4 separate regions of the Homo sapiens genome follow, and regions 1, 2 and 3 are each linked to region 4. Evidence: promoter capture Hi-C in 16 types of primary human blood cells and fetal thymus (Javierre and others, 2016). All regions are on one chromosome and are shown on one strand. Each heading gives the region's core, a stretch centred on a gene start or on the middle of the fragment in contact. The rest is flanking DNA. Distances are from core to core; before and after follow the strand shown. Region 1 has its middle 76 kb from the start of TMX3. Region 2 has its middle 120 kb from the start of TMX3. Region 3 has its middle 96 kb from the start of TMX3. Region 4 holds the start of DSEL (dermatan sulfate epimerase like).

What was found. The method cuts DNA at HindIII sites, captures the fragments that hold promoters and counts their contacts. A CHiCAGO score of 5 or more calls a contact.
Region 1: a fragment that was not itself captured here is called in contact with the fragment with the promoter of DSEL in region 4 in 4 of 17 cell types (megakaryocytes, endothelial precursors, total CD4 T cells and 1 more); the score reaches 6.2 in megakaryocytes.
Region 2: a contact is called between a fragment that was not itself captured here and the fragment with the promoter of DSEL in region 4, in 1 of 17 cell types (total B cells). The highest score is 5.5, in total B cells.
Region 3: a contact is called between a fragment that was not itself captured here and the fragment with the promoter of DSEL in region 4, in 8 of 17 cell types (endothelial precursors, naive CD8 T cells, total B cells and 5 more). The highest score is 8.8, in endothelial precursors.

The regions. Positions count from the first base shown.
Region 1 is chr18:68,637,063-68,640,717 of GRCh38, forward strand. No RefSeq gene overlaps it. Among named protein-coding and RNA genes, the nearest start is that of TMX3, 76 kb to the right of the region's middle. The HindIII fragment of the contact is 3,600 bases long and covers 114-3,655 here.
Region 2 is chr18:68,595,376-68,598,557 of GRCh38, forward strand. No RefSeq gene overlaps it. Among named protein-coding and RNA genes, the nearest start is that of TMX3, 120 kb to the right of the region's middle. The HindIII fragment of the contact is 1,310 bases long and covers 1,200-2,509 here.
Region 3 is chr18:68,617,286-68,620,649 of GRCh38, forward strand. No RefSeq gene overlaps it. Among named protein-coding and RNA genes, the nearest start is that of TMX3, 96 kb to the right of the region's middle. The HindIII fragment of the contact is 8,753 bases long and covers 1-3,364 here.
Region 4 is chr18:67,515,280-67,518,482 of GRCh38, forward strand. It overlaps DSEL (dermatan sulfate epimerase like), which reads right to left and starts at 1,441. Exons shown (of 2, transcript NM_032160.3): 1 at 1,082-1,441; 2 at 1-213. DSEL-AS1 (DSEL antisense RNA 1) reads left to right here and starts at 1,267. Exons shown (of 5, transcript NR_033921.1): 1 at 1,267-1,470. The HindIII fragment of the contact is 6,208 bases long and covers 1-2,499 here.

The DNA of each region.
Region 1 (3,655 bases), core at 664-3,163, 1.1 Mb after region 4:
TAGTTCAAGATTTAGGACTCCTTTTAGCAATTGTGTAGTGCTGGCTTGGTAGTTTTGGTTTCTCTCAGCATTTGTTTTTCTGGAAAAAAATGGTATCTTTTCTTCATTTGTGAAGCTTAGTTTCACTGGATACAAAATTCTTGGCTGATATATTTTTTTTTAAGGAGGCTGAAGATAGGGCCCCAATCCCTTCTAGCTTGTAGGGTTTCTGCTGAGAAATCTGATGTTAATTTGATAGGTTTTCCTTCATTGGTTACCCTGTACTTTTGCCTCACAGCTCTTAAGATTATTTCCTTCATCTTGACTTTAGATAACCAGATGACAATGTGCCTAGGTGATGATACTTTTGCCATGAGCTTCCCAGGTGTTCTTTGAGCTTCTAGTATTTGGATGTCTAGGTTTCTAGCAAGGCCAGAGAAGTTTTTCTCAATTATTCCCCCAAATTTGTTTTCCAAACTTTTAGATTTTCTTTCTTCCTCAGGAATGCCAATTATTCTTGGGTATAGTCCCAGACTTCTTGGAGTCTTTGTTCATTTTTTAAAATTGTTTTTTCTTTTTGTTGGATTGGGCTAATTCGAAAACCTTGTCTTCAAGCTCTGAAGTTCTTTCTTCTGCTTGTTCGATTCTATTGCTGAGACTTTCTAGTATATTTTGCATTTCTCTAAGTGTGCCCTTTATTTCCTGAAGGTGTGATTTTTTTTTATTTATGCTATCTATTTCACTGAAGATTTCTCCCCTCATATCTGGTGTCATTTGTTTGTTTGTTTCCTTAAGTTGGACTTCACCTATCTTTGGTGCCCCCTTGATTAAATTAATAATTGACCTTCTGAATTCTTTTCCAGGTAATTCAGGGATTTATTCTTGGTTTGGATCCATTACTGGTGAGCTAGTGTGATTTTTTGGATCCATTGCTGGTGAACTAGTGTGATCCATATTACCAGAATTGTTTTCCTGGTTCCTTCTCATTTGAGTAGGCTATGTCAGAGGGAAGATCTGGGGCTCAAGGTTGCTGCTCAGATTCTTTTTTCCCACAGAGTGCTCCCTTGATGTACTACTCTCCCCCTTTCCCTAGGGATGTGGCTTCCTGAGAGCCAAACTGTAGTGACTGTTATTTTTCTTTTTGATCTAGCTAACCATCAGTCCTACCTCGCTCTGAGCTGGTAAAGGGGTGTCTGCACAGAGTCCTGTGATGTGAACAGTCTTCAGGTCTCTCAGGCATGAATACTGGCACCTGCTCTGGTGGAGGTGGCAGGGAAGTGAAATGGACTCTTAGTTGGGTCGTTAGTTATAGTTCTTTAGTGCACTAGTTTTGTGCTGGTGTGCCTCTTGCCAGGAGGTGACACTTTCAAGAGAGCATCAGCTGTGGTAGTATAGGGAAGATCAGGCAGTGGGAGGGATCCTAGAACTCCCAAGATAATATGACCTTTGTCTTCAGCTACCAGGGTGGTAGGGAAAGACCATCAGGTGCAGTCAGGGTTAGGCATGTCTGAGCTCAGATTCTCCTTGGGTGGGGCTTGCTGTAGCTGCTGTGGGGGATGGGCATGTGGTTTCCAGGTCAATGGAGTTATGTTCCCAGAAGGATTGTGCCTGTCTCTGCTGTGTCATGTAGGTTGTCGGGGAAGTGGGGGAAAGCCAGCAGTTACAGGCTTCACTCAGCTCCCACGCAACCCAAAAGTCCAGTCTCATTCCCACCGTTCCCCCACAACAGCACGGAGTTTGTTTCCAGGCAGTGGGAGAGCAGGGCTGAAAACTTGCCCCAGGCTACCAGCTTCCCAGCTGAGAAAGCAAGCAGGGCTTTCAGGCCTCCCTATCTGTTGAGTCTGCACACTGGATTCATGCCCTCCCCTGAGTTCTGGCCAGGAGACTTCGCATTCGGTTGGAATTGTTACAAAGTCCAGTTGGAGGTTTCCTTCCCCCTGTGGTCTTTTCCCAGTTCCTCTGGCAGCCCTCCCCAAGGACTCCAGAGATACAAGTCAGAAATGGCTTCCCTGGGGACCCAGAGAGTCCACAGGGCTTTTCCTGCTGTTTCCTCTACCACTGTATTTCACTCAGCTTTCTAAATTGACTCAGCTCCGGGTAAGATCATATCCTTCTCCTATGATCTAGGCCTTCAGGTTCCCCAGTGAGGGTGTTTAGGGGCAGACGATCCGATCCCTCTTTCCCACTTTCACAGTTTGGGCACTCACAGTATTTGGGCCGTCTCCTGGGTCCTACAGGAGGAATCCACTTCCTTCAAAGGGTCTATGGATTCTCTCAGCTTTCCTGATGTATTCCTGTAGTAGCTCTTGGAGAAAAAGTTCACGATGTGAGTCTCCACACACTGCTCTGTCCTCCCAAGTGGGAGCTGCTATTTAATCCTGTCTCCTATCTGTCATTTTCCCCACCACTCATCTCTCTGTTATTACTTACAGCTGCATGCAAGTCTACAATTACCTCAAAATAAAAAGGTTAATGTAAAAATAGATTACTCCAAATTATAAGAATATTTCCATTTCTTATATAGAAATCTAGGGAAGAAACATTTTTAAAATTCTGAAGGAAAACCTGCTAGAATCTAAAATAGTATGTTTGAACTCTCATTGAAATTTGAGGATAAAATGATGACATTCCCGATATAAAAGTACAAAGAAAGACTATTATTTATTCCCCTAATTGGATTAAAAACTCAATAACTTGATTTATTTTGGAAAAAATGAGAAAGGACTCCAAGAGAAAAAAGCGTAACATAGGAGAAATAATATAAAAATACATCACAATAGCAATTGCAGCCAGAATTATTATCGCAACTGTTAAGAAAGTATTCCTTTGAAAAAAGACATTAGTTTAAAATCCTAGATAGTCTTTGATTTGATACCAACTGTGGTATGTTTAAATAAATTTTTTAAACATCTCCTAAAATAATTGGAATAGGATGGAGAGCATCCAGATCACCAGAGGAATCAAAAAGAGGGAATTCTAATAATGGAGCAAAAAGCTGAAATGAAAGGAAAGACATTAAACACGAGAAAGTCTTACAAACAGAAAATATCAGGTAAGTATCAATAATAAGAGCAATGATGATTGGCACTAATTTAATAAATGTAAGTATCAAATTATCTCAAATAACATTGACTTGTCAAACAGGGTTAAAATACTAAAATAAAAAAGCATTCTCTGCACAAGTATACATCAAATCAGAAGAATATGGTAAGGCTGAAAATAATGAAATTGACACAGGAAAATAGAAAGAACTAAAAACAAAATGAACACTTTACCAAAGAAGAAATAGAATGGCTAATTAGCATAATAAGTGACATCTAACCTCTTTTGCAAAATCAAAGGAGATTTACCTTTCTCTCATTACATTACAATTTTTAAAAATAATATGAAAATGAAAATGTGGGGGAAACTAGATCCCTAATAAATTGGTACAAAATAAAATATAAAGAGTTTGTGTGTATACCATATGTACTTATAATTCACATTAGCATATAAAAGTGACTATGCAATTTATAGTTTAAAAAAAGTGTTTGTGATACTTTTTCCTTTCTTGACTTGTTTGACCACAGGCCCTTTTGTGAAGTAAGATACGTTAATATCCTATAAAACAATTATATACATGCTGTTTTAATCAATGAATTAGTTAAGAAATGTGGCTCCATGGGTCTGCCTATAC
Region 2 (3,182 bases), core at 605-3,104, 1.1 Mb after region 4:
TTCATTTATATTGTAGAAATAAAGGGCTGCCTTCAGTTCAGAAAACTATATTGCACTTATCAGGAAAGATAAATATTTGGCTTAGAAGAGTTAAATGGTCAAATACTTAGAAACATATTTTCTTCGTATTGTTACCTGCTAGATTTCTGGTGAGATTGCTATTCACCGCACAGTGACAAGTAGCACAGGGGAGGAGATGCTCATGCACTGCGGATATGTACAATGTCTGAAAGTATATTAGATGGAAATCCACTAGGAGTTTAAGACGTAAAAATACTTTCAAACATGTGTGGCTTTCTAATGTGTTACATTTTCCAGAAAATACAAACTAAGGATAACCCCCTAAAAAGAAATTTTCATTGACATCTCTTTCTTTTACCTACTGAAATCATTGAGTTTGTGATATTTCACAGATATAAATGCCCAGGCTTTAAAATGTGTCTATTACATTTATAAAAAGATGAAAAAAACATAAAAATAGTGTGCATAAAAGGAATACTTAATATTTCAAATTCTAATTAACATTCCAGATGTAAAGAATACGAGTCCAATTATTCTACTCCTTGATATTATTCCTCTATTTACATAAACTGAATGTTATTTTTCTACACACAAATCTTTATATCCTTTATGAAATACCTAATTTTCACATGTCCTTTTGTTATTTTAGACAAAAAACTTATAAGTGTGCAATAATTTCCATAAAAATAAATTCCGCAACCCTTTAGTTTCTATAATTTTTGATACTTAACCCCTGACACAGAATCATCTCATTCAGTATGTTGCCTGTGGCAATAGAGAATAACTCAGCAGTAGTCTTAGAAAGAAGATGAAGAGCTCCCAGCAGGGTTGTAAGCCACTGCAATAACATCTAGAGAGGGGTGTGGAGAATTGCTTCCTGATACAATGGTGATTAACCTACACAACAAGAGATTCCTTCATTATATAGTCTTAGTCTACCAAACTTCCAAATATTGCAGCACTTGCATAATCGTAAAATATAATTAAAGCATTGTTGGTATACCTTCTTAATTATTATAAGTTGTACAGGTTTATTTTTTATTTGAATAAAAAAAATGCACCCCCTAATTTTCTCTAAATGCGTATTCTAATGTTTGAGAGAACACATTTTAAAGACAAAATTGATCATTTAAGCAAATTAATTATCTGTGATGTCTCATATGTCCAATAACTATTAAAGCTTCTTTTCAACAGTTCTTAGAAGCCTAGTTTTATAATCTACCAACTACCTTTTAGTGTCTTCTATGCATTTGTGTCACTTCACATTGCAAATTACAAATGTAAAACATCCGTGATTTACAATGAAAATCACAGGTAAAAATCAATGCTAAAAACGTGTTCGATATCCTATTAATAGTGACACATTGTTAAGTTAAAAACAATATAGATAGGAATATGCAGACATACACAGTTGTATATTCATACAGTAGGAAACTAACAGCATTAAAAAAATTTACGAGTTTTAACATCGTGAAAAAATGTTGACAACACAACATATAGTAAAAACAAGCACTTCTCAAAGCAAATGTAATAATCATTTTATTTAAAGAGGAAAATAACAATTTTATAATAGAGCAGCTGGGAAGACATCACCTTAACCAAGTGTTCTACTATAAAGGGACAAATCAAAATGTGTGCCACTTATAGGGACAATCAGGAAGCATCTCTTCTTTGACCTCCTTGTCAAACATTCTGCTATGGTTTAAATTTTTGTGTCAACCCAAAATTCACATGTTGAAATCTTTACCCCTAAAGTGACAGTATTAGGAGGTGAAGCCTTTGGGAAATAATTAGGTAACAAGGGTGGAGCTCTCATGAATGAGATTATTGCCTGTATACAATGGATGGCCCCTGAGAGCTCTCTTGCCCTCTTTCTTTCATAAAGGAGACAGATAAAGGAGAAGTCAGTCCCTACCACCAGAAAAGGACTCTCACCAGAACCCAACCTGCTGGCACTCTGATCTCAGATTTTAGCTTCCAGCATTGTGAAAAATAAATGTCTGTTGTTTAAGGCCCTCCGCTTATTGTATTCTGCTACTGTAGCCTGAACTAAGACACATGTGTAACTAGGATCTCATTATGATGAAACATTCGTCAAACCCAGATTGAGACACACTTATTGAACTGGTCTGTAATCTTCAAAATGTCAAGGTCATGAAAATCCAGAAAAAAAATTGAGGAAAATTATAAATGGAAGACAACTAAAGAAAATTGACAAATACAACAGAAGATTCAGGACATGAATTCTTTTGCTGTGTAGGACATTATGAAAAAAATTGGCAAAACTTACTTGATCTCTGAGAACTAGATAGTAAGAGTGATGTCGATTTCCTTATTTTGATGGCAAAATTGTAGTTATGCAAGAAGATGTTTTTGTTTACAGGAAATAACAGCTTTGGAGCATGATAGGACATCATATTGCAATGCATACTGAAATGATTCTGGGGAAAAAAAAGATTACCTTTACTGTTCTTGCAGCTTTTCTGTAAGCTTTAGTTTGTTGAAATAATAACCAAAATTAACAACCACACGCCACCTTGTTACACGAATGACTGAGGAATAAAATTTGTCTAGTGTTTCCTCCTTGTGTTTGTTCTGTTACGTACTCCTCTCATGGAAATTTCAGTGAATTCCCAAGCATTGCTTTTTTGCTCTGCAAATCCACCCCTATGATCACAGGGCATTTTTCCAGCCAACGTCTCTCCAAACCTCTGACCAGCCGGAGCCAGCAGACCCCTCAGGCTCTTCCAGGCTGCAGCATCTTCCTAGGCACCTGTTCCTCCAAGGGTTCTCACCATTAACTTGATGTGTCAACCTGGCTGGACCACACTGCTCAGATATTTGTTCAAACACTCTTCTGGATGTTTCTGTGAGGATGGTTTTGGATTAGATTTACACTTAAATCTGTGGACTTTAAGTAAAACAGTTTGCCCTCCATAATGAGTGTGAGTCTCATCTAGTGAGTTGAAGGCCTTAATAGAAAACAACAGATCTTCCCCGAGCAAAACTCTGGCAGTGGATGACCTTCAGACTTGAACTGCTTGAACATGAACTTGAACTGCTGCATCAGCTTTGCTCTGGGTCACCAGACTGCCAGCCCACCCTGCAAAGCTTAGACTTGCCAGCCTCCATAATCATGTGAGCCAACTCTTTGAAATCTC
Region 3 (3,364 bases), core at 109-2,608, 1.1 Mb after region 4:
CTCTATTTTGCATGTTTTTAATACTTAGGAGTCAGATGGTTTAATCTTTGGTTTCTTTGATAAGATGCAGGTGCAATTATATTGATACACCTCAGTAAGTATCCTCTCTTAATGTGAGTTTTCAAGTTTGCCTCCTGACAGGACACTTTCTGCTAATGATAGAATAGTAAGAAAATTAATGGCTCTTTTTCCTAAAAGTTTTTTTTTCCTGCTTCCAGTCACACCTAGAGTTACTGAACATAAAAAGTTCACTTGAAACTGATCCAAAAAGAAAAAATAAACAGTAAAATCAAAAGCCAAAACTTCTTACAAATTTGGGTTGGAAGGCAGTTTTAGAAGAAAAACCTAATTAGTTCATTTTTTTCTGACAAAGTGAAACCTGAACAAGGGAAAAACAGACATAGCCACTAGCCTAGGGTCCCTGTTTCTTTTAACGAAAGTAACTTGGTGATTGGGTGGGCCTTATCACATCCCTATGAGATATGACCTTGGGACTACACTGTCTTCTCCTATAAATCATATCATTTGAAAACACACAATTCTATCCTGTAAAAGACGAATTTTTTTTTTTTTTTTTTTTGAGATGGAGTCTCGCTCTGTCGCCCAGGCTGGAGTGCAGTGGTGCGATCTTGGCTCCCTGCAAGCTCTGCCTCCTGGGTTCATGCCATTCTCCTGCCTCAGCCTCCCCAGCAGCTGGGACTACAGGCGCCCACCACCACGCCTGGCTAATTTTTGTATTTTTAGTAGAGACGGGGTTTCACCGTGTTAGCCAGGATGGTCTTGGTCTCCTGACCTTGTGATCCACCCACCTCGGCCTCCCAAAGTGCTGGGATTACAGGCGTGAGCCACCGGTACCCGGCAGTAAAAGACAACATTAAGAGAGTGAAAAGACAAGCCACAAACTGGGAGAAAATATTTGCACAACAAATATCAGATAAAGGACTAGTACAAAGAACTCTTAAATCTCAACAATAAGAAGAAAATGAACAACCCAATTTAACAATGCACAAAAGGTCTCAACAGACATCCTACCAAAGAAGATAACAGATGGCAAATAAGCATATTAAAAGATGCTCAACATCATATATCATCAGTAAATTGCAGATTAAAGCAACAATTAAATACTGCTATATACTTCTCAGAGTAGCTAAAATCCAAAACATTGGCAAAACCAAATACTGTTGAGGATAAGGAGCAATAGGAATTCTTATTCTCTGCTGGTAGGAATGCAAAATGGTACAGACACTTTGGAAAACAGTTTGAAAATTTCTTACAAAGTTAAACATACTCTTACCCATAGAGTCCAGCAGTCATGATCCTTGGTATTTACCCAAATTAATTGAAAACTTAGGATCACACAACAACCTGCACTGAAATTTTATAGCACCTTTATTCGTAATCGCCAAGATTTGGAAGCAAACGGATGTCCTTCAATAGGTGGATTAATAAATAAACTGCAGTATATCCATACAGTGGACTATTATTCAGCACTTGTAAGAAATTAGCCATCAAGCCATGAAAAAGACATGGATGAAATGTACATGAACATTGCTAGATGAAAGAAGCCAGTCTGCAAAAGTTACATACTGCATGATGCCAATTGTGTGATTTTTCTGGAAATGGCAACTATGGAAACAGTTAGAAAAAAAGAAAAATTAGTTGTTGCCAGGGGTTTGGAGGGAGAAAGTAAGGGATGACTAGGTGGAGCACAAGGGGATTTTAGAGCAGTGAAACAATTCTACAGGATACTGTAATTGTGGATACATGTCATTATACATTGGTCAAAAACCCATAAAATGTACCACACAAAGAGTAGGCCCTGATACAAACTATGGGCATTAGTTGATGTGTCAATATTTGCTCATCAATTGTTACAAAATGTATCACATTAATGGAAAATGTTTATAATAGGGGAAACTGGAGGAGTTAAAGAGTAAATTAGAATTCTGTGCTTTATGTACAATTTTTCTATAAAACTTAAACTACTCACAAAATAAAGTATAATAACTTTTTTTTTTTTTTTTTGAGACAGTCTGGCTCTGTCGCCCAGGCTGGAGTGCAGTGGCGCGATCTCAGCTCACTGCAACCTCCACCTCCTGGGTTCAAGCGATTCTCCTGCCTCAGCCTCCCGAGTAGCTGGGACTGCAGGTGCGTGCCGCCACGCCCAGCTAATTTTTGTATTTTTAGTAGAGATGCGGTTTCACCATGTTGGCCAGGATGGTCTCGATCTCTTGACCTTGTGATCCACACTTCATGCTAAAAACGCTCAATAAACAAAGTATTGGTGGAACATAGCTCAAAATAATAACAGCCATTTATGACAAATCCACATCCAATATCATACTGAATGGGCAAAAGCTGGAAGCATTCCCCTTGAAAACCGGCACAAGACAGGATGCCCTCTCTCACCACTCCTATTTGACATATTATTGGAAGTTCTGGCCAGGGTAATCAGGCAAGAGAAAGAAAGGTATTCAAATAGGAAGAGAGGAAGTCAAACTGTCTCTGTTTGCCGGCAACATGATCCTATATCTAGAAAACCCCATCGTCTCAGCCCAAAAGCTCCGTAAGCTGATGAGCAACTTCAACAAAATCTCAGGATACACAATAAATGGGCAAAAGTCACAAGCATTCCTATACACCAACAGTAGACAAGCAGAGAGCCAAATCATAAATGAACTCCCATTCACAATTGTTACAAAGAATAAAATATCTAGGAATACGACTAGCAAGGGATGTGAAGGACCTCTTCAAGAATTGCAAACCTCTGCTCAAGGAAGTAAGAGAGGACACAAATAAATGGTAAGACATTTCATGCCCGTGGATAGGAAGAAACAGTATCATGAAAATGGCCATACTGCCCAAAGTAATTTATAGATTCAATACTATTCCCATTCAACTACCACTGACATTCTTCCATTGAATTAATTCAATGGATTAATTAATTAAATTAACCATTGAATTAAAAAACAAAGCTACTTTAAAATTCATATGGAATCAAAACAGAGCCCGTATAGCCAAAAAAATCCTAAGCAAAATGAAAGAAGCTGAAGGTATTATGCTACCTTACTTCAAACTATATTACAAGGCTACAATAACAAAAACATCATGATACTGGTAAAAAGCAGACACATAGACCAGTAGTACAGAATAGAGATCTCAGAAGTAAGGCCACACATCTACGACCATCTGATCTTCAGCAAACCTAACAAAAATAAGCAATGGGGAAAGCATTTCCTATTTAATAAATGGTGCTGGGAAAACTGGCTAGCCATACGCAGAAAATTGAAACCGGAAACCTTCCTTATACCTTATAGAAAAATTAACTCAAGAGATGGATTAAAGACTTCAATGTAAACCTGAA
Region 4 (3,203 bases), core at 191-2,690:
TTCAGGCTTACTTACTCATCAGCCTATTATGACAAAGAGAAATCATGTTCACATCTTCTTTTATCAGCTTCATGTGTACAAACATAAAAATGGAATATCTTCAGTCACCTAGATACTTCTCGTCCGATCATGAAGTAACCGCCAACGGGGAAAGAAAATTCCCCTTTCAGCAACAGTGAGGTCTCTCTTCTGCTCTTTTTTCATGACACTTTTCTGGGGATGGGGGACAAAATAAAAATTCTCTGAGGCTTCAGGTATGCTGAGAATGAATATAAACTGATGACTTAAACATTCTGCAATCACTTAATAGAAATTTTAGAATCACAGTAAAATCTCATATTATCTGCAACCTAAGCTAGGGCAAGTGATTTTTTTCTTATCCATTTACACGCACTTATTTGGAAACCAGTGACCGTCAGCAGAAGACAAGCAACTAACAATACAAAATATACAAGATAGAACTCTCCCGACAATATCTATAGTTTAACGCCACTAACGTGGCTTCAGTCACTTAAAAAATGTTTGTATTCAAATGCAGTTTACACAAAGATGAGTCCTGCTATCCTTGTTATTTCTTGTTCCCAAGGACCGAGGGACAAAAAACTGAAAGTTGAAAAGATCTTTTTTTTTTTTTTTTTTTTTAATTCCGGGGGAAGGTTTAGAGTTCATGGGATCAGAAGGTATCTTCCTAATGAGAACTACTCGGACCAGTCACTTTTCTCGGCGGGGTAACCGCGAATCGTGACCAGGCGCCAAGCCGAGGGGCGGGAGCTCCGCGCTCGGCGCTCACCTGTGGCCGAGTCCCTGTCCTCAGGTGGAGCCGCCAGAGGGAGCTCGGACCCCGGTGTCGAAAGACGCCTCTCCGTGCCCGTCCGCGGCTGGAAGAACCTAAGCAAGTTTCAGTCTTGGACAAGTCTCCCCTCTGTAGGAAACATTCAGGCTAGGAGTTTCCTGATCCGCCCCGCCTGTTGCATTTTTTCACTGGCGTCCTCCGACCCTGCCGCCCCCATTCTCCGCTCCCCGCTCTGGGGCTGAGTGAGGCAGGATGGCGAGAGACCCCTGAGCCACCAAGTCCGCTTACCTCAGGCAGATCCCGACGGGGGCTCGGCGCCGCACTGGGCCCCAAGGGAGACGGAGGTGGAGAGTTCCAGAAAACTGCTCTGCACGGCGGGCCAGGCTCCCGCGGGGCTCCGCAAGACCCCCGCGTCGTCTCCCGCGCTACGGCAGGCGCTGCCCCAGCTCGGTCTCCTCAGCCGCGCTCGGTCCCCGCGACCCGCACGGCCCGGACACGCCCGCCCTCAGGAAACGCCGGACGCTTGTGGGGGCAACCACGGACCGCAGGACAGAGACCCGCGGGCGGCGGGTTCTCTCGGTGGCGCCGTATCCAGAGCAGCGCCCGCGTGCCCAGGCGGTGATGTCGCCGCGGCCGAGGATCCTCTGTGCCAGCTCCGGCCGCGCAGCCCGGGGAGGGTGAGACGGCGACGCGGGCCGGCAAGCGGGGGCGGGGCGGAGGCAGGACGGGGCGGGGTTGAAGGCGGGGCTGAAGGCGGGGCCTCAGGGAAGGCGAGAGACAGCGACGCTGGCTGGCGGGCGTGGGGCGGGACGGAGACAGGACAGGGCGGGGTCAGAGGCGGGGCTTCGGGGAGGACGGGAGGAGCCGTGAGCAGGCCGGCGGCGGGCGGGGCGGGGCCGAAAGCAGGTGAGGCGGGGCCAAGCGCCCCGGGTTTCTAAGCGGAGGAAGCTCTAGGCGTTTGTGTTCTGGGCTTGCAGCGGTGGCCGCGCGCTCCCGGAGGAGTCGAGCTGGAGGAGGGGACAGTTTGGGAGTGCGAGAGTCTAAAGACGCTGCCAGGCTGGCGTTAAAACCTTTTGGTTATGGGAAGACGACAACTATATAATAGAGCCATAGTGGGGGCTGTGGGATTGACTCAAATGATGGGAGGAGCTGGAGTGGGAGGGGATAAGCCCTGGGACGACAGAAATCATCCTTTTGGAAAGAGCAAGGGCTGGGGAAGGAGGGAATGAGCACTCCCTTGGAACTGAGAGGCAGCCTGGCTGAGCTTGCTGTCCTTTGGAAAAGCAAAACCGAAATACCCAGATTAATATAGGAGGACAACTTCTGTAGCCCAGATGCTAACAAAGATCAAGGGAAAACAGAAAAGACTAATCAGCTTTACTGATGGAAAACAATTTCTCAGGCAGTATAAATAGGGGAAGCATGGGACAAACAAGTAGAAGGAGCCTCTTATTTAAAAATGGGACCTGGTATTCGGTAAAGACCTACATGCAGACAGGAGAAGGCAGTGTGCCCCGGCTACTACGACATGTGAGTGCAGTGCCAGGTCGTGGAAATCCTAGAGCAGGCTGGGACTCCTGTTGCACTCCACACATGGAGCTTCTCACAGATAGCTGAGATGACACTTTGGCATAAACCAACCCAAGCTCTGACCTCAAATGTAAAAAATAATAGCTTAGTAGTAATAAAAATACAGGGAAATATCAAGCTTCACAAATGAACAATTCCATTCTCAGTTGGGGATTAGTAACACATTCAGTCTCTTCATTTCCCATACTATTTTGGTAATATTTAATAAGATATATTTTAACATTTTAAAAATAAATGTCTTGCTTAGATCATTTGCTGCTGAAAATCAAACAGTAGACGACTGCTAGCAGAATAAATTTCAAATCATTTAACTTTGAGGTGAAATGTGGCCTCTAACTCCTCATCACTCTTCTGTTTTGGCCCCGTAGTAACCCCTAGCCCAGTCCAAATAGCCACACTTGCTTTTGCTTGGGTGCTTCAGTAACTATGCTTATTCCATTCTTTCCCTCACAGTGTCCTTTACCCAACCACCCCACTTACTAGTTAAAATTCTTCTGACTGTTGAAATTATCTGATCATCCAGGTCTCAACTCAGATGCTTACATTCTTCTGTAAATAACTCCTAAGTTTCCCTAGCCAGAATGTATTACTCCAGAACTATATCATTTGTACCTATATTCGGCCGTTTAGGTTGTTTATTTTCTGCTTTCTATTTCAACTGGTTGACTCCTGTACCCTATTCAAAACTCCTTCAAGTCATGAGTAGCACTCAAGTCCCCTTTGTAAGTACTATATCTGCTTTTGAAATGAGTTGAACCTCGAACAATTGGGCTGATACAGAGCCTCGTCTCCTCCACTGAGGTTTATTCCCAAACAAGGA